Linked DNA regions of Homo sapiens: regions 1, 2, 4, 5, 6 and 7 are each linked to region 3. Evidence: promoter capture Hi-C in human tissues and cell types (Jung and others, 2019). All regions are on one chromosome and are shown on one strand. The core of a region is centred on a gene start or on the middle of the fragment in contact, and the rest is flanking DNA. Distances in the headings are between cores, read along the strand shown.

Evidence for each region. Contacts are between HindIII fragments. The study calls those that stand out against the background at their distance.
Region 1: a contact is called between a fragment that was not itself captured here and the fragment with the promoter of SRSF6 in region 3, in 1 of the 25 tissues and cell types used here (dorsolateral prefrontal cortex).
Region 2: a fragment that was not itself captured here is called in contact with the fragment with the promoter of SRSF6 in region 3 in 1 of the 25 tissues and cell types used here (dorsolateral prefrontal cortex).
Region 4: a fragment that was not itself captured here is called in contact with the fragment with the promoter of SRSF6 in region 3 in 1 of the 25 tissues and cell types used here (aorta).
Region 5: a fragment that was not itself captured here is called in contact with the fragment with the promoter of SRSF6 in region 3 in 1 of the 25 tissues and cell types used here (dorsolateral prefrontal cortex).
Region 6: a fragment that was not itself captured here is called in contact with the fragment with the promoter of SRSF6 in region 3 in 1 of the 25 tissues and cell types used here (lymphoblastoid cells).
Region 7: a contact is called between a fragment that was not itself captured here and the fragment with the promoter of SRSF6 in region 3, in 1 of the 25 tissues and cell types used here (dorsolateral prefrontal cortex).

What each region holds. Positions count from the first base shown.
Region 1 is chr20:41,663,870-41,666,569 of GRCh38, forward strand. No RefSeq gene overlaps it. Among named protein-coding and RNA genes, the nearest start is that of CHD6, 47 kb to the left of the region's middle. The HindIII fragment of the contact is 4,219 bases long and covers 1-2,700 here.
Region 2 is chr20:41,714,388-41,717,087 of GRCh38, forward strand. No RefSeq gene overlaps it. Among named protein-coding and RNA genes, the nearest start is that of CHD6, 97 kb to the left of the region's middle. The HindIII fragment of the contact is 3,700 bases long and covers 1-2,700 here.
Region 3 is chr20:43,456,509-43,459,208 of GRCh38, forward strand. SRSF6 (serine and arginine rich splicing factor 6) reads left to right here and starts at 1,388. Exons shown (of 6, transcript NM_006275.6): 1 at 1,388-1,632; 2 at 1,853-2,001. The coding sequence starts at 1,526. RefSeq lists enhancers at 725-1,044, 1,105-1,264, 1,186-2,133, 1,565-1,664 and silencers at 1,805-1,904, 1,915-2,174. The HindIII fragment of the contact is 8,319 bases long and covers 1-2,700 here.
Region 4 is chr20:44,608,187-44,610,886 of GRCh38, forward strand. The region is part of intron 2 of PKIG (cAMP-dependent protein kinase inhibitor gamma); the gene reads left to right. Among named protein-coding and RNA genes, the nearest start is that of PKIG, 27 kb to the left of the region's middle. RefSeq lists enhancers at 867-1,441, 2,199-2,268, 2,319-2,418, 2,449-2,508. The HindIII fragment of the contact is 7,160 bases long and covers 1-2,700 here.
Region 5 is chr20:41,902,044-41,904,743 of GRCh38, forward strand. LOC101927182 (a long non-coding RNA gene) reads left to right here and starts at 1,805. Exons shown (of 6, transcript XR_001754611.2): 1 at 1,805-2,056. The HindIII fragment of the contact is 3,027 bases long and covers 1-2,700 here.
Region 6 is chr20:44,638,609-44,641,308 of GRCh38, forward strand. The region is part of intron 1 of ADA (adenosine deaminase); the gene reads right to left. Among named protein-coding and RNA genes, the nearest start is that of ADA, 12 kb to the right of the region's middle. RefSeq lists an enhancer at 1-2,700. The HindIII fragment of the contact is 5,650 bases long and covers 1-2,700 here.
Region 7 is chr20:41,792,129-41,794,828 of GRCh38, forward strand. No RefSeq gene overlaps it. Among named protein-coding and RNA genes, the nearest start is that of CHD6, 180 kb to the left of the region's middle. The HindIII fragment of the contact is 4,306 bases long and covers 1-2,700 here.

The sequences.
Region 1 (2,700 bases), core at 72-2,571, 1.8 Mb before region 3:
AAGAAAGCTAATGCCCACTAATGGGAGAATAAGGGCATACATTTTGATACTTTTTTTGAAGCCATCAAAAAACATGAATTACGCTGGGTGTGGTGGCTCACACCTGTAATCCCAGCAATTTGGGAGGCCGAGGCGGGTGGATCACCTGAGGTCCGGAGTTCGAGACCATCCTGGCCAACATGGTGAAACTCCATCTCTACTAAAAATACAAAAATTAGCCGGGCGTGGTGGCAGGTGCCTGTAATCCCAGCTACTTGGGAGGCTGAGGGAGGAGAACTGCTTGAACCCAGGAGGTGGAGGTTGCAGTGAGCCGAGATCTTGCCATTGCACTCTAGCCTAGGCGACAGAGTGAGACTCCATCTCAAAACAAACAAAAAATGAAAACCATGAATTAGAGCTATACCAATGAACATGGATAATATTTCACAATGTATTGACTGAGAAAAAACAAGATGAAGAAAGGTTTTTTTTTTCTCCCAGAAAACAATGACAGAAAACTGTATAAAACTTATGTGTGTGTACGTTTGTTTGTATAGGTCTGAAAATAATTATATAAGCATGGGGGGAAATACGAAGGGTTATTTTAATAGTATTAGATTCACCTATGAGCAAAGAAAGCCCAAAATAACAATGGCTCAAATAAGATACGTAGTTCATTTCTCTCTCATGTTAAGCTCCGTGTTAATCTGGAGCTGATGTGGTTTCTCTCTTTCATGAAAATCTCTGGAACCCAGGCTCCTTCCAGCTTTCTGCTCTGCCATTACTAGAATGTGAACATCTTGAAAGTCCAGCCTGCACAGTTTCATCCTCAGACTTCACGTTCCATGTAGCAGGTTAGAGAAAGAGGAAGGAGAAAGGGTATATGTAAATTGTCTCTTAAAGATTTCTGGATGCGCAACAAAATGCTCCCATTGGTCAGAACTTAGTCACATGAACACATCTAGCTGCAAAGGAGAATGGGAAATGTAGTCTTTATTCTGTGTGGCTATGATCCCACCCAAAAATTTCGTGACGCTTTGCACGCATGCATTCTTGTAGACAACTTAAGAATCAGTCTTTCAAGTTCCAAAAATAATCCCCTGGGTAGTTTGACTGCAACTGTATTAAATCCATAAAGTGATTCAGGGAAAGCTAACATATTTATACCATGTAATGTGGTATACCTCTCCAACTTTTTATCTTGTTTGGAATATTTTAGAATTTTCTTCATGTAAGTTTTCTGTATTTCTGGTCATAGTTACACACAGTTATTTACAGTTATTGTTGCAATTATGAATGGAAGTTCTTTTTAGTACAATTTACTAAGTGGCTATTTTTGGAATATAAGAAAGTCATAGATTTATATTTCTTGTATTGAACCAATTTATTGACCTTTCTTATTAATTTCAGTAATATTTTCTGTTGGGTTTCATGGATTTTCTAAGAAGAAAAGACTGTAGCCTGAAAATACAAATAATTTGCTGTTTCTTTTAATATGTATTTCCTTTGTTTTTTTCTTACCTAATGGCACTGTTCTGAGACTCCAGAAACATTTTGATTAATGGCAATAATAGTGAGCATCCCATTTAATAGAAACGCCTCCAGTATTTGTTTAATGTTTTACCATTAAGTTTGCTGCTTGTGGCTTCTGATTTTAAAAAGTGTCCCTGGGCCCTCTGTTCTTTGCTTAGTAAGGTGTTTATCATTATTTTTGTCATCACTGTCATTATTATCATCATCTGAAATGGAGGTTATACTCTAATTAATGCATTTGGGCATATATTGAGATGATCATATGGTTTTTTTCCTTTCACTATCTGATGTATTACAGGATGCTTAGTTCAACAAAGATTTCTTAATGTTGAACCAATCATTCTTCCTGAAATAAACACTACTTGGTCATGGTACATAACTCTTTTAATATACTGCTTGGTATGACTTACTAATATTTTATTTAAGACTTTCATACCAGCAAGTGCTTGGTTAGATTTTTGCATTATAAAATGAAATTGGATCTTTTTTGATGCTAGTTTAAATATCTAGTTTAAACAACATACAAATGGTATTTTTAATAAGATTTCCTAGAACCTACTCATAAAACCATCTGGGGCAGAATTACCTAGGGGCATAGATTATTTACATTTTCAGTTTTATCAATGGATTTTAGTATAGGTTCCTTTTGTTTTGTTTTAGTTTTTAGAGGTATGTACTTGCTCTGTTACTCAGGCTGGGGTACAGGGGCACTATGATAGCTCACTGTAGCCTCAAACTCCTGGGCTCAAGGGATCTTCCTGGCCCAGCCTCCCAAGCACCTAGGACTGCAGGTGCTTGCCATTATGCCCGGCTGATTTTTTAAAACATGTTTTGTAGAGACAGGGTCTCTTTGTGTTACCCAGGCTGGTCTTGAACTCCTGGCTTCAAGAGATCCTGCCACCTCGGCCTCCCAAATTGCTGGGATTACAGGCATGAGCTACTGCATCTAGCCTATATAGGTTTCTTAGAATCAATTTTAGGAGCTTATATTTTTATGGGATACCATTCATTTTAGGTAAATGTTCAGGTATATTAACATCAATTTTAACATAAAATTTTCAAATAGCTTAATTATTCTTAATATGTGGAGATAAAGACCCTACTCCTGAGCCCTGGCATTGTGTTACTTGTGATTTATTTCTTAATTTTTGCTTATGCTTAACAGTAGTTTTTCCTTTTCTTCTTCAT
Region 2 (2,700 bases), core at 55-2,554, 1.7 Mb before region 3:
GAGGTCCTTTCTCAACATTTTCTCTTAAAATGTTTGGCTCTTTAGGGCAGAGCCCAGACTCACCAATGCCACACATGCCTCCCATTTGCCTGCTAGACTTTAGAGCTTTGGAATGGATCTGCAATCTCATAGAAAAGAGGTAAAGCAAATTCCTTCCAGGTCATAGCAAGAGGGTGGGGTGTCCTTTAACTGTCCTGATGCCTAAATTTGGTTTTACACAAAATCCCCAAGATGCTGTAAAATCACTTTTGTAGCTGGATGCCAGGGTCAGAATTGATGACTTGAGAGGCAGAGGAGCAGAGCTTCTGCTATGACCTCAGGAAAATGAGATGTGGCTGCTGAAGCCCAGAGCTTGGCTCCCAGCAAACCTCAGCCCTGGTTGCCAATGCCATCTCCCACTGCTGATGGATGATGGCCCACTGGCTCCTGCACCTGTGGATAGCTCTGATTTCTGCTTTCAACCTGTAGCCACGTAGCCTTTGGATTAAAATATTGTCCTCTGATTCAGATGATTCTTTTCTTCTCTGCAACAGGGCCACCGTAGGACATATATAGTAGTTAGCAGTGCAGGTTTTGCTGTTCACTAGCTCTCTGGTCTTTAGCAAATGACATCTTTTTTTTTTTTTGAGATGGAGTCTCGCTCTGTCTCCCAGGCTGGAGTGCAGTGGCACCATCTCGGCTCACTGCAAGCTCTACCTCCTGGGTTCAAGCCATTCTCCTGCCTCAGCCTTCTGAGTAGCTGGGACTACAGGCACCCGCCACCACGCCTGGCTAATTTTTTTTTTTTTTGTATTTTTAGTAGAGACGGGGTTTCACCGTGTTAGCCAGGATGGTCTCAATCTCCTGACCTTGTGATCCGTCTGCCTCGGCCTCCCAAAGTGCTGGGATTACAGGCGTGAGCCACCGCTCCCAGCCACAAATGACATCTTTGATCCTTGGTTTCCCCTTCTTTATTAATAGACTCTGTAAAGAAGGTTTCCTGTGCGCTGGTTACCCACTGGTCTGAGTTTGGTGAGACAGAACACCCATGCTCACAACAAGTTAAGTAAACAAGCTTATTACTTACAGATAGGCAGGCAGCAAGGGACAACAGAAACCGAGGATTCATTGCCACCCAGTCCTCCAAGGTTCAGGAAAGCTGCCTGGGTGGATGGAGTCTCAACTGCATGTGCTCCACTTTCATAGCAGCTGAGGGACCTCAGAAAGCAGCCCACACTGAGTTTTATACCTCGGGGTTACAAGACCCTCTGGGCTAAGCCTGGAAGGACATCTCATTTCTAGGGAGGGATTGGAACAGAGCCTGGACTGTCCTGACCAGCTCCCCTCTTATCTCAGGATGTTTTATTTCCAGCATGTCCTGCAGTTATTCTTGAGAACTACAGATAAGAAATGGGGGGAGAACTGTCTTGGTCTAAGGCCACCCAGAGAACTGTGCTGCAGATCCCACATCTAGAGTTCTCTTGAGGGTCAAATGAGATATCATAATGGGAAATGCTTAGCTTAGTACCTGATATGTAGCATTTTAAAAAAGGTAGTTATTAAGTTAGAAAAGGGACTATCTGCAGGATCCCTGCATGGGAAGAATGCATGGGGACACTGCATGCAGATGCTTAGGAATGCTTTGTGACAAACAACATCATGGGAGGTGGCAGCTCAAGAAAGTTGATCATACTTGTGCTTTTGAAACCTTGTGAGCAGTGTTAAAGCAGAAATATGAAAGGGAAAACCTTTACATGACAGCTTTCTATGTTTTATTGACATCCTGGCTAAGCTGGCTCCCTGACCTGGGTCTGGTTGATTCAGAGCTGGTGAACAATCATTATCTTGCACAAGGATGCACTAGGAAGGACCACACTCTAGCCCAGCTGGTCATGCAGTCATGTTGGGAAGTGCTGGTTGGCCCAGGGAAGCCATTCCTGATGGATCAGAGGAAAAGGGAAGGGAGAAGTAAATATGAAAAGAAGCTCAAGCCCAGGCTATGACCAGGAGAGCCAATCCTTCATTTGGAGCGCCACTCTTTCTTTGCCCAGAAACCTGCAGGTACATGCAAGTCCCTGGGAGTGGCTCCAGGAAGCCCCCCTCGGGCTCTATGTTGCTTTTTTTGAGTTAGACTCTCTGGCATAGACTTTGTCTTTGAAAGAGGATTTGTAAGTCGCTGTTTATTTATTCTTTTACTCATTCATTCCACATTCATAGAGCACTGGATTAGTCAGGTTCTCCAGAGAAATAGAACCAACAGAAATAGAACCAAAGACATGCATTATAAGAAATTGTCTTACATGATTATGGAGGCTGACGTGTCCCAAGATCTGCAGGGTGAGTTGGCAAGCTGGAGGCTCAGGAGGGCCAATGGTGTAGTTGTGGTCTGAAGGCTAGCAAGCTTGAGACCAAAAAAAAGCTGATGTTTAAGCTCTAGCATAAAGGCAGGAAAAACTCAAAGTCCAGTTTGAAGACTGCTGAGTAGGAATAATTCCCTCTTATTTGGGAGAGGATCAGCCTTTTTTTCTATTCAGGCCTTCAACTGATAGGACAAGGCCCACTCACACTGGGGAGAGCCAACCTAATTTACTCAGCTCATTGGTTTAAATGTTAATCTCATTCAAAAACACCCTCACAGACACACCTGGAATAATGTTTGACCAAATATCTGGGCACCCTATGGCCCAGTTAAGTTGAGACATAAAATTAATCATCACAGGG
Region 3 (2,700 bases), core at 138-2,637:
TTGTTCTTTCCTTCAGGCAGGTTGGAGTCTTGCTTTGTCACCCAGGCTGGAGTGCAGTGGCATGATCATAGCTCACTGCAGCCTCGAACACCTGGGCTCAAGAGATCCTCTTGCCTCAGCTTCCCAAGGTGTGGGGATTACAGACTCGTATTTTTTATTTATCTAACTTTAAGCACGGCCTCTACCTCCCCCAGTCGTGACAAACAACGTTTCCCTCTAGACTTCCAAATAGCTCCAGGAGGACAAAACCCCCCTTTTTCAACCCGAAGCTTAAGGATATTGAGGTTGCACCACTCAAAACAGAGCAGGAATACATAAATATCTAAAGAGCTGGTGTTATCTCAGTGATATCCCTTTTTTTTTTTTTTTTTTTTTTTAGCTTCGGCGGTGACACCTACTCTCCTGGTCTTCTCCCTACCTCGCTAGTCACTCCTCCCAGTCTCCTTTCCTGCGCTTAAATTTCAGAGTACCCCAGGCGTTGGCCTGGGTCTTCCGCTCTCCACTTAAACTTACTCCTTTGAGGTTTTCAATCTGGTTCTACAGCTTTAAATAGCATCTCCATTGATAAACTCACAAAATAAGGCACTTTCAAGTCAGTGGAGGAAATGATAGTATTGGGACAAAGGACTTTCCATACACGGGAGAAAAAAAATCGTTCGTCGCTGTGGGAGGGCTGCCGGGTCTCGTCCACGCTCCCTTTTGAGCACCTACAGTGAGCGTAGGATTGCCACGGATAGCCCAATCCACAAGTGAGTCAAGCTGCCAGGGCTCCAAGAAAGACCCATGGAGGGAGAGGGGAACGTCCGGGGAGGCGAAGGCTGCGAGTGAGACCCGGAGAGGCTGATGTCGGCGGGTCTGCGCGCTCGCAACGCGACCTCCGCCCGGTCAGCAAGACCTCGGCGCGCGATCCTCAGATTCTGCGAAACAAGACAAGCGACTGGGTCCGAGACCGCGGTCCCCATCAAAACGAGCATCAACCAATCGCTGGGAGAAATCCGCAGCCTCGTTTTAAGCCACCAAGCAGAGACCGCGGCGACCTATTATGATAACCTCGAGAACCAATGAAAAACGGGGATTCGCTCAGCCCGCCTCCCGAGCTTCAACCCCGAAGAGATCGCGCACAGTTTTATAAAAGGTACAAATTAGAAAGCAGTTCTGCGGCTGGATTAGAGACATTGTGTTTTCAAAGACGGTGGGGAGGGCTAGAGAAAAATCCTAGAAGCTAGCAAGACCGCACTACACCGAAACGTCGCGGGCAACGGACTCGCCAGTCACCATCTAGCCCAGGGACGACGCGGGACGGACGTGCCGCTGCGCGCTGACATCACGCTCCAGGCCCCGCCCCACCGGCCGCCCATATAGCGAAAGCCTGGCGCGCGCGCGCGCCATTGTGTGGCTGGACTCGGCCGCCCCTGTGGTGTGAGGCGCGTGTTCGGGCTCTTGCCGTCCCCGCACCCGCACCGCGGTTACTGGCTTGCGGTCCGCCGTTCGACAACCAGCCCTTGGGTCCCCGCCCGCCACGGACATGCCGCGCGTCTACATAGGACGCCTGAGCTACAACGTCCGGGAGAAGGACATCCAGCGCTTTTTCAGTGGCTATGGCCGCCTCCTCGAAGTAGACCTCAAAAATGGGTGAGTCGGGCCTGGGCGCCCGCGCCCAGCGTCCCAGGCCTGGTGGCGGCGGGAACTCTCCAAGGAAAGAAGCGGCCAAGGCCGCGGCGCCGCGTGGCAGGGCCTCAAAGATGGCGACGGCGCGGCGTCGCGGGGGCGCGCGGTGGGGTACGGGCGCGCGCACGTGCGCGTCCTGGCTAACGACTCCCCCGCGGTTGTCCGGCCCTCGCACCGCCCCTAGGTACGGCTTCGTGGAGTTCGAGGACTCCCGCGACGCCGACGACGCCGTTTACGAGCTGAACGGCAAGGAGCTCTGCGGCGAGCGCGTGATCGTAGAGCACGCCCGGGGCCCGCGTCGCGATCGCGACGGCTACAGCTACGGAAGCCGCAGTGAGTCCCACCCCCGCGCGCTCCGCGCCCTTGGGGACCCTGGGGGCGGGGGTGGGTGGGGTGGGGCCTCCCAGCCCGGGCAGGCGCGAGGGCCGGGGGTCGTTTGACTTGGGTGTCCCCGAGCCCCGCTGCCTTCACGTCTGCCCGGGGCAGCCATGGGACGCCGGAGCGCGGGGATTGGGTTTGGGTGTTTGGTTTTGTTTATTTGCCAAGTTGGGAGGTGGGTGGCTTCTTCTGGCCCCTTGTCAGCACTGTCACGGGTTCTTCCCACAGAGGAAGTAAGGGGTGGCTGTATTTGTTGTATTCTCCTTACTTACCTATCAGTGCATTAGTTAGAGGTTCGGGGGCAGGCTCGGGTGGAGGTGGGGTAGGGGGCGCGGGGGACGGGGAAGGGGAGGAGCATAAAGTATAGGTCTTAAAGCTATGGAACTTGATGGGGGCCAAAGAATGTACTATTTTTAAGTAATGTGGTATTGTACCACAAAGTAGATCTAAATAAGCTTTATGCTGTATTTGAACTAATTGGGGCATGTTATTGGGAGGAGGTTGGGGGGATTTTTGGTTATGTTAAATGTTTGATGTTTAAATTGTTGCATGTTGAATTCAAACTTTTTAACAAGTCCTTGATGTTTCAATTTGAAAGTGACCAATGGGGCTGAGGCTGTGTCCACTGAGGCTAAGATGACTGCCTTTCCTGAT
Region 4 (2,700 bases), core at 84-2,583, 1.2 Mb after region 3:
CATAATCTAAAATTAAGTAATTTTAAGATGAAGTGAATGTGTTCACTATAAAAAGGAAATATAACAGATTTTAAAATTACTTATAAAAATATTAATGTATGTAATTATATCACTGGTATTCTTTTTCATTTAACTATATGTGAACATTTTGCCATTTCTTTAAAAAATATTCACAAACATCATTTTAATGCCTGAATGGTATTTCATTTAGATACAAATTAGTTAAGTATGTATATATTAATAATTCTCCATTGTCCGTTTAGGACATGTGACACATCCATTTAGGAACTCATTTTGGTGTCTTTAGTTTCCTGCTATTATAAATAATACTGTGGGCCAGGCGCAGTGGCTTAGGCCTGTAATCCCAACACTTTGGAAGTCCGAGGCAGGAGGATCACTTGAGCCCAGGAGTTTGAGACCACGAGTTTGAGACCACCTTGGTTAACATAATGAGATTCCCATCCCTGAAAAAAAATGAGCCAGACATGGAATAGTCCCAGCTACTCAGGAGGCTGAGGCAACAGGATTGCTTGAGCCCAGGAAGTTGAGGCTACAGTGAGCCATGATTGTACCACTGCACTCCAGCCTGTGTGACACAGCGAGACCCTGTCTCAAAAAAAAAAAAAAAAATACTATGAGGAACATCTTTGTACATTTTATCTTCATGTAGATCTTGGATTATTTTCTTAGAATAGATTATTATAAACTGATTTAGTAGCTAAAAGATATGGAAAAAGTTGAGGTTTCTGGATACACACTGTCAAGTCACTGCCCAAGGAGGTCTTGGAAGTTTACAGTCTCATTAACAGGGTTTGAGAATGACCATTTTCTGACAGGATTTCCAACTCTGAGGATTCTTTATTTCCCCATTTGCTGTTGACTCTAAAGATGAGAGGGTGAGTGACGAATATAAATATGGGAGAAAAATAAAACGATGTGTTTCTGCTTTCGATTGGAGAGCTCCCCAGAGCCGTCTTTGGAATTGCTGTTCCCTGAGGGGATATGGTAGCCAGAGCATGTTGGCCCAGCTGATGTTTTCTAGGATTGGTCTTTGAGTGTGGCATTTGCTGTCTCTGTGTCCCGAGGGCCAGTGGCCTGCACTGGGCAGCCTGTAACATCAGATGGCATTGTGAGATCAAAGCCCCAGGAGACATTCCAGCATGAAGCTGGCCTTTCAGATAGAGCCTGTAATTCCATCCCATGGTGTCAGGTCCTAGGACAAGAACACCTGCACAGCACTCCACGGTGCACGGAGGCCCTTCTCAACAGCCCCAAGAAGGAACTGCGGCTCCTCCCCACAGAGGACAGGCGGGCAGCAGGGGAGAAGAGGGATAGACACAAACTCCCTCTCCTTCAGAGGCCCGAGAGTGAAATCCAGCGAGTGTGCATGGAGCGCCTGCTCTTTACCAGGTGCTGGATGAGAATCAGGGAATGCAGCGGCCAGAACCTGTTGGCTCAGCTGCCAGGATTAGGTTTCAGCTGGACATGGGAAAAATCCAGACCAAATTCCTGTTCCCGTGGAGCTGACAGTCTAACTGAGGAAGAGCCGAGGACTCGGAGGCTCCGGGAGCCAGTGTGGCCTGCTCGGGGTTTGTCATTTTCCAGAGCAGCGGGTTTCAGGTGGGGCTGAGGCCCTTCTGAGCCGTGGCTGTAAACCGGCCTCACTCACCTCAGAGGGCAGCTGTGGCCACTGAGTGCGTGATGTGTATGAAAACACAGGCACCTGGGCCATGGTACCTTTCCTTATCGTAGGAATTGTCAGCATCATTTTTATCCTCTGTTATTACTGTTATTATCATAAGCCATTTTCCTGTCCTGAAGCATTGAGCGGTTTCCCCAGAGGCAGAGCGCAGGAGTGAACCTCCGTGACCTGTAGAAGGAGCCACCTCTGGAACTTCCGGGAATTCTTTTAGCCAAGGAGGAGCCAGAGCGTGACTAGGGCAGCGCGCAAGGCTGCTAGGAAGATAGGCAGGGTGCGCCATCTGCTGTAGCCGGGGGGAATTGCCGTGGACAGTGTCCTGGCCCTCCTCTATTTTACACAGGGGAAATGAAGGCCCCAAGAAAGGCAGGGTCTTGCCCAGGGTTAGGTGGCAGAGCTTGGGTTTAAGGTCACGTGTCTCATTCTTTGCTCTTTCTACCATAGGACACCTCCCTGTCTCACCTGTCTGATCTTTGAGGGCCCCTAATTCATTCTTTAGGTGTTTCTTCTGAGCTAGGTGTTGTGGGGGGATGTGGGCCTTGCCCTCCATACTGATCCTCTTCTCTGTCTCTCTCTTTCTCTCTCTCTCTCTCTCTCTCTTCTCTCTCTCTCTCTCACACACACACACACACACACACACACACCTGCAGCACTTACTGGCTCAACCCCACCCTGGGTGCCTTCTGGGCACTTCTGCCAATGTCAGCTACCTTCTAAAAGCATTGCACAATAATTTGGGTTTATAAAACTTCAACCATTGAAAAAATATAGACTTAGAAAACGAAAGTTCCCCTTAATCACAAAGAACCACAGTTGACAGGGTTGATAGATGTTTTTTCAGATTTTTTTTTCATATGTCTGCTATCTTTCCCCACAGGAACTGGGTTTTATTTTAGGTGTTGTTTTGCAACCTCTGTTTTTCAGTTGCCAGTTTATCTCAGACATTGTCCTATGTCAGTACAGGCCCATCTGGCACATTTCTTTATTATTTTTTTTTTACT
Region 5 (2,700 bases), core at 88-2,587, 1.6 Mb before region 3:
AAATTATATACACTTTAAGCATTTAATTTTAACTTAAGCATATAAGTGTACATGCATTCATGAGTCTTTTGATGTGGGGGGTCCAGGTATTTTCCTTGAGTACCCAGGTTTCCTTTCTGCTGAAGTTTACATATCAACGATGATCCCTAACTTAACTTGCTTTGAAGTGGGCAAGAATTCAACCTGTGAAGAAATCTGAGGGCAGGAATCCTTCTAGAATTTTGTTTTCCCCAAACTCCGAATTCTGTAGAATTTTTTAAAAAGTTATTTGCCTGTGCACAGTATTCAAACACAGTTTTCATAGATGCATAGATTCTTATATATAATATTTAATTAAATCTGTGATTATAGTAACAAGTATAAATAGCGTTAGCACGCTTGGAACCAATGCAAGATTAAACAACTCAGCTTTTAGAAGCTGCAGCGAATGGGTGTGTCAGAGAGTAGCTTATTAGCCCTGAACATTCTAGTGCCATGGGTTTGGTCAACGTGTCTTAGAGAATTGGCAATGGTGGTTGAATACCAAACAGCTGAGCTCTTAACACATGTTATTATCACTCTATGAGGTTCAGAAAGGTTAAGGACTCTTCTCAAAGCCACATAGCTAGAAAGAGCTGGAGCTGGGAGGTAGACCCAGCCAGCCTGCATCCAGAGTCTCTACTGAACTCCCCTGATTGTCTGTTTAGGTAAAAAATGATAATCAGTCTTTTTATCTTGACAAAGTATAAACACTTCTCCTTTTTATATAACTATAAATACTTCTCCAAATACACGCTTCTTCCTGCCCTCACTGTCCTTCTATCCTTAATTTAGAAAGAAAACTTGGTGTTCTTGACAGATGAGCAATTGAAATGGATGCATTAATTGATTTAAATGTCCAAGCATCAATATTCTCTGACAAAACATTGTCAGTGCACAGAAGACCAGTTAATGAAGAAAATAACCATGGAAGGGGGAATCAATTAGACTGAAAGTTTAGTTGAACCCTTTGATAAAGCATCTGTAGGTAGCTAGGTAGCATGCATTTCTCCTTCCCTCTGTTATGTCCCCATCCTCTCCCATACACACCTCTTATTGTGTAAAGCATTATACATCCAGTGAAATACTACACCTTATGGTCCTAGTTCTGTTATTATTCCTGTGCACCATCTCCTTTGATGTGACTCATTGCTGGTTACTTGCCTTCCATGCCCTATATGTAAAATGGGGGTAAGAATAGTACTTGCCTATCAGAGCTGTAGAGAGATGTAAATGGGAAATGCTTAGGACAATATCAGATACATTGTAAATGCCCAGAAAATGGTAGCTATTATTGTTTTTCCAACCCTTTTTCCCTAGGGAAAAGATAAAAAAGACTTAATCAGACATAGCTAAGGGAAAGCATTCTGTTTTAGCTCTTTTGGCCTTCTTTTGTAATCCTAGTCCAGTGCCCACAAGGCTCAATAAATATTTGTAGAAAGTTGAATAGATGAATCGTAGGTCAGTGTTTTTCCCCAATCTGCTTCTGCATCTCATGATGGTCTATGTTATACGGGTTGTTTCTCTGTATCAAAGCCTTTTATACTTCTGTAGTTTCAAAGAATTCTCAGTCTCTCCATCTGCAATTGCTTACGGTCTTCATATTGTCAAGTACGGACTTTTTCTGAACTATGTTTTCAAGGGAATCTTGTTTTCCTCTCATATTCTCAGAAAAATGCCAACAGACAATTGCCTGCAGAATGACAAATGGCTCACATGGCTTGTTGCTCCGCTTTGTTGCTTGGATCTGAGTGCCCTGTGATCTGAGGTTTATGTCTCTTGGCTGCCTCCATGTCTCACTGTGGTTTTATATCCCCTGGCTTTTTGGCAGAAACAAAACTTTTAGATTTGTCCTCAACTGAAAATGTTTCAGCTGTGTGTGCAGGCGTCTTCATGCTATAGAAGAAGGAATGGAACTGTGAATGGTGGGAAAGGCTGAAGGAAGTAATGGAGACCACGATGCAGAAGTAGGTGCTCTTGCAAAGCAGTCCCGGGACAGATAAAGGAAGCAAAGGCAGAGAACCCCAACGCCTTGTAAGTAAGTTCTTTTGTCTTGGCGGAGTTCTAACCTGGAGTTGTCTGGGATAGGACTGGGATGCTAGAAGCCAGGTTAGGTGAATATCCCCGTGGGCAAGTGAGGATCACCTGCAGCTCTTTTTGTCTTAGGTGGTTGTGTCAAGTGCCTTTCAAGTGCCTCTTCACCACCCAGAGCTATTCTTTGCTGTCTCTCTGCTGTGCTCTGCTCTCTTCCCAGGAGGCTGACTCTGATCGATTGCATGAGCAGGTTCCTGTGCCCTTTAGCTTCAGCTAGGTGGGTCCAGTCAACAGGGACCCTTGGCAGGAGATCAGAGGTTTGGAGGGAGGAGGGTATGCTCAGGGTATCTATTCCTCTGAAGGAATTGCCTCAGGCTGGCTGTGCCTTTCAGTGGCAGGTAAATGTTCCCCTCAAGGTGGCTCCTTTTATGAAATTCTCTCCTTCCAGTTCTGGTATCTGTTCTCTCTCCTCGTCATTTTGAGCCTAGAAAAGATAACGACCACATTGTTACTAATCCCGGGGTACTGCACTGTCCCTGAAAGCTTCCCTATAACCTGCCCCCACCTTTGCAAATGGTTCTTTTATTAAGTCCTGTTCATGTGATCCCAGTATGAGTTTGTCTATGCTTCATGCAAGGACCCTGGCTG
Region 6 (2,700 bases), core at 61-2,560, 1.2 Mb after region 3:
AACGAAGGCCTGCGCTCCTGCTGGATGCTAGATTGTAGAGTTAAACAGGAGGGTCCAAGTCCTGTTCCTGGGGCTTGTACAGGCCCCAGAGTGGGAGAGGCATTAAGCAAATGTCACATGGGAAAATGTACAGTCACAAACCAAGACGACTCCTTGGGAAGTACGAACACAGTCCTATGACAGAGGGTAACAAACAAGAGAAGTGAATACATCTAGAGGGCCAACAATGAGCCTGAGCGAAAAGCTAGAGGATAGCGAGGAACCCACAACACAAGGCAGGGGTGCGGAGGGAGGCAGGAAGAAAATTCCAGGCAGAAGGAACAGCATGTGCAAGGCCCTATGGCAGGAGAAAACGGGGTATATGAAATGGATTAAATAGAGGTTCAGAGAAGGGAGGGTTCATGGTACTGGAGAGGCTGCAGGATAGGACCACCCAGGCAGGGCTGTGCGGGCCACGAGGAGTCAGGCTTTATCTGGAAAGCACACAGAGGCCATTGCAGGGTTGGCAGCTGGTTAGAGAAAGAGGATGGCTCCTCCAAGGCCAGTTAGAGGCTACTGCAGCCATTTGAAAGATGACGGTGGCTTGGACCAGGGTTGTGAGGTGCATAGAGGAAAAACAGGTGGATAGAAAGAGATGCCAAGGCTCACACTTCAGGTTAGGCCTGGGTGGGGAGCAATTCCCGCAGTTTGAGACAGAGAACTCTGGAAGAGAAGACCAAGTCCTGGAGCTCCCTCCAGGAGGGAGGATGCGGGGGAGGGAGGCATGATTGGTTTGGTTTTAGTTATGTTACACTAGAGACACCTTTTGTTTTTTGTTTTTTTAAGACGGAGTTTCACTCTGTTGCCCAGGCTGGAGTGCAGTGGCTCCAGCTCAGCTCACGGAAACCTCCACCTCCCGGGTTCAAGCGATTCTCCTGCCTCAGCCTCCCGAGTAGTTGGGACTACAGGCACCCACCACCATGCCCAGCTAATTTTTGTATTTTTAGTAGAGATGGGGTTTCACCATATTGGCCAGGCTGGTCTTGAACTCCTGACCTCAAGTGATCTGCCCACCTCGGCCTCCCAAAGTGCTGGGGTTACAGGTGTGAACCATCGTGCCCAGCCAACTGGAGATGCCTTTGAGATATCCAAAGGTAAGTGGAAGAACCCAGTGGGATACAAGAGTCTAGAGCTGGCCTGAGAAGCCCAAGCTGGGAATGTAGGTAGGAGTGTGGGTAAGCACAGAAGCTGTGGGCTTGAAGGAGCTCACCTAGGGAGAAAATATCAAGGGAGGTAAGGAAAAGGCCTAGGATGAAACTTTGACCAGCACAAGCACTTAATGGCCTTACGGAGGAGGCTGAGCCTACAGAACTGTGGCCAGAGAGGTGGGAGGGTGTGTGGTATGCAGAAGGCCAGGCCGTCAGATGTCAAGGAGAAGCGAGCAACGGTTCACAGGGTTAGCATAGTGGGCTGAATGGTGGCCCCCACAAAGCTGTCTACATGCTAATCCTAATCCCCAGAACCTGTAAATATTACCTTATATGGGTCGGGCGTGGTGGTTCATGCCTGTAATCCCAACACTTTGGGAGGCTGAGGTGGGTGGATCACTTGAGGTTAGGAGTTCAACACCAGCCTGGCCAACATGGTGAAATCCCCTCTCTATTAAAAATACAAAAATCAGCCAGGCATGGTGGCATGCACCTGTAGTCCCAGCTACTCAGGAGACTGAGGTAGGAGAATCATTTGAACCTGGGAGGCGGAGGTTGCAGTGAGCCGAGATTGAGCCACTAGCACTCCAGCCTGGGCAACAGAGCAATACTCCCTCTCAAAAAAAAAATATTAACTTATGGCGGGTGGATCACCTGAGGTCAGGAGTTCGAGACCAGCCTGGCCAACATGGTGAAACCCCATGTCTACTAAAAATACAAAAGTTAGCTGGGCATGGTGGCAGGTACCTATAATCCCAGCTACTCAGGAGGCTGAGGCAGGAGAATTGCTTGAACCTGGGGGCAGAGATTCCAGTGAGCCGAGATTAAATCACTTTACTCCAGCCTGGGTGAAAGTGCAAAACTCCACCTCAAAAAAAAAAAAAAAATTACCTTATATGGCAAAGTGTGATTATTAAATGTCTTGACAGGAAGAGTTTATCCTGGATTATCTGGTTGGGCCCTAGATGCAATCACATGTATCCTTATAAGACAGAAGCAGAGAGTTTTAAGAGAAACACACACAAGAGGAAGCAGCAACGTGACCTCAGAGGCAGAGACTGGAATGATGCAGCCACAAGCCAAGGAATGCCTAGAGCCACCAGCAACCAGAAGAGGCAAGGAATGGATTCCCCCGAGAGCCTTCAGTGGGCATGTGGCTCTGATGATATCTTGATGTTGGACTTCTGGCCCCCAGAACTGCCAGGGCACACGTTTCTGTTGGTTGAAGCCATGCAGGGTGTGGCAACTTGTCACGGCAGCCACAGAAAACTCACATGGTCAGGCCCTGCTGGAGGTCACAGGATGGAAGGGCAGAAACTTGTCCGTCGGGCTAAAAGCGCAGGCACTGGGGGCTTCAGAGGAGTAGTTCTTAACCCCGGCTGCAAGTTAGGAGCACGGGAAGTTCTGGCCAGTTCCCAAGGCCTCAACCCCATCTGAGGTCAATTAAAGAAAAATCCTTGGTGGCAGGCCCAGGTGGAGGACTTTTTTTAAAAAAACACGTAGTCAAGATTGG
Region 7 (2,700 bases), core at 184-2,683, 1.7 Mb before region 3:
AGGGGTGGCAAACCTTTTCTATAAAGGGCCAGGCAGTAAACATTTTGGTCTTTGCGATCCATATGGTCTGTGTTGCAACCTGTCAACTCTGCTACTGTATGAAAGCAGCCATGGGCAATATGTAAATTGATGGGCATGGCCGTGTTCTAATAAAACTATATTTGTGGACACTGAAATTTGAATTTTACATACTTTTCACGTGTCACAAAATATTCTTTTGATTTTTTTTCAACAATTTCAGTGTAAAACCCATTCTTAGCTTGTGGGTCATATAAAAACTGGTGGCAGGCCAGATTTGGCCTATAGGCTATAGTCAGCTGATCCTTGTACTAGACCATAAACCTTACAAGGATAGAATCTTTTCTGCTCACTATCATATACCCAGGACCTGTCGCAGTGCCTCATACACAGTGGCCACTCAAAAAAAATCTGTTGAATGAATGAATGAATGAATGAATACAGTCTGTCTATTCTCCTTTGTTTCCTCTTCTCTGAATTTGTCCAAAGAAAATATGAGGTAAGGAAGCTGAGAAAGAGTAATCAGAAGGTATCCAATGCCTTCTCTTGTCTACATCTTAGGTAGGAATTCACAAAGCTTCTGATTTTAGTGAAAAGAAAGATTAAATAAAAGTCTCTGTAAGGGCTTTAGTTGTCAATCTGCCCTGAAGTTCAGAAATACTAAACTCAGAGCTCAAATATGCCAAGAATGTTTTTTTTTTTAAGCCTAAGAATAAATCTAGAATTATAAAGTTGTTTCCTACTTAACCCCAGAGGGTACACTGAGATTAAGTATAATTGTTTATAGTTGTGAGTTAGTAAGGATGTGTTCATAATGCAAAGAACTGCGTGGTTTTAAATGTTCTAAGTTGTGCATTACTTTAAAAATATATGGTAACGAGATATGAATAATTGGTGTTTGGTGAGGTTGAAGTTTCTGTAAAATGTATTTCAGGCTGTGCATTGGAGCTGTAAAAGTGCAACACTGACACCTTCCATGAAAAACCAGGCGGGTGCTGGAGGCCATAACTGAGACAGTGTTGAGCATGGAGGAACAGGTCATGTCAATGAGCTTTAACCAATAAAGCATCTTGGAAACATCTGAGAAATCAAAAATATGACTTGCAAAGGGTGATTATATACATGGGGAGGATAACTAGGAAAGAGCCTCAAAGGCTAGACCTTCCTTCTGGGATAGGGGAGGAGGATATATGCCCTTTGGGAAGAGAACAGAGCTAGCTAGGCACTTCAGATCAGAGCTGTGGGTGCTAACAACTAATTTGTGCTGGTTGAAACTTACCATTGTCCAAGACCTTCCCTTTCTGGGTCATTCTTAACAATTACTATTATACTTTAATAATTCAATATAGAGTATTTATATATATGTGTGTATATATATATATATATATATATATATATATATATATATAACTTTTTAAATAGAGCTTAACTGGATGGAGACATTCACTGTGTTGCTGAAATCCCTTTTATTCAGACCATGATTCCGTTATTGTTTATTTTTTCTGCTTTTCCAGCACTCATTACCTCCTTCATTGTAATGGGGGCGGGCCTCATCCCTCTGCCTCTTTCCATTTAACTGAGGCGGCTCTCACCCTCTGGACCAGGCAAGGGCACATGATCTTGGGCTAGCCAATCAAAACATTTCATTCTTCTAGCCATAGTGATTGGTTCAGGAATGAGCATATGACCTAAGCTAGACCAATGAGAACCATTCCCAGGTCTTTCCTGAGCCCACTGATTAAGTAGTTAAGCTTCTAGGCTGCTAACTGGAAGCTTCTGTTGGTGACTTCCTTGAGGGAGGATTTTTTTTTTTTTTTTTTTTTTTTGAGACAGAGTCTTGCACTGTCACCCAGGCTAGAGTGCAGTGGCATGATCTTGGCTCACTGCAACCTCCGCCTCCTGGGTTCAAGTGATTCTCCTGCCTCAGCCTCCCGAGTAGCTGGGATTATAGACATGTACCACCATGCCCCGCTAATTTTTGTATTTTTAGTAGAGACGGGGTTTCACCATGTTGGCCAGGCTGGTCTTGAACTCCTGACCTCGTGATCCACCTGCCTTGGCCTCCCAAAGTGCTGGGATTACAGGCCTGAGCCACCGCGCCTGGCCTGAGGGAAGGACCTCTTGAGAAGGGAGGTATCACAAAGATGGCCACTGCCAATTTACCTTCCCTTGTGGATCTTTTGCTTTCTAATCTTCGCTGTGGTGGGGAATAATCTCTACTCAAAGTGTTTGGTGGATTACATGAAAAATACACAGCAGGTATTTGGAAGCATTTCCATCTTCCTTTCTTCCTTCTTTCCTCTTTTTCTCCTATCTCTCTTTTCTTCCCTCCCTCCTTCCTTCTCCCCAACCTTACCTTCCTTTCAAGGAACTTTCCCCAAAGGGAGATTATTTAGGTACAGGCTTGGCAACTTTTTCCCAGTGACTTCTCTTCCATGGGACTGGGGCAGCCACGGGGCAGTTTCTTGAAGGCTTCAGTGAAGGTGAGATTTGTAGGGCTTTTGTGATCACCTGGAGGATGCAGGGCTGAGATTGGTAGAGGGTGGAGGTTAAAGGAGCAGATCCTTTTTGGCCATGAAAAAGAACTTTCTAACCAAAGCATTTTTCAATAAAGGCAAGAGCATCTTAGGTGGTGTTTCCAACCTGGGGCATCCAGCCAAGGATTAATGGCCATCTCTCAGT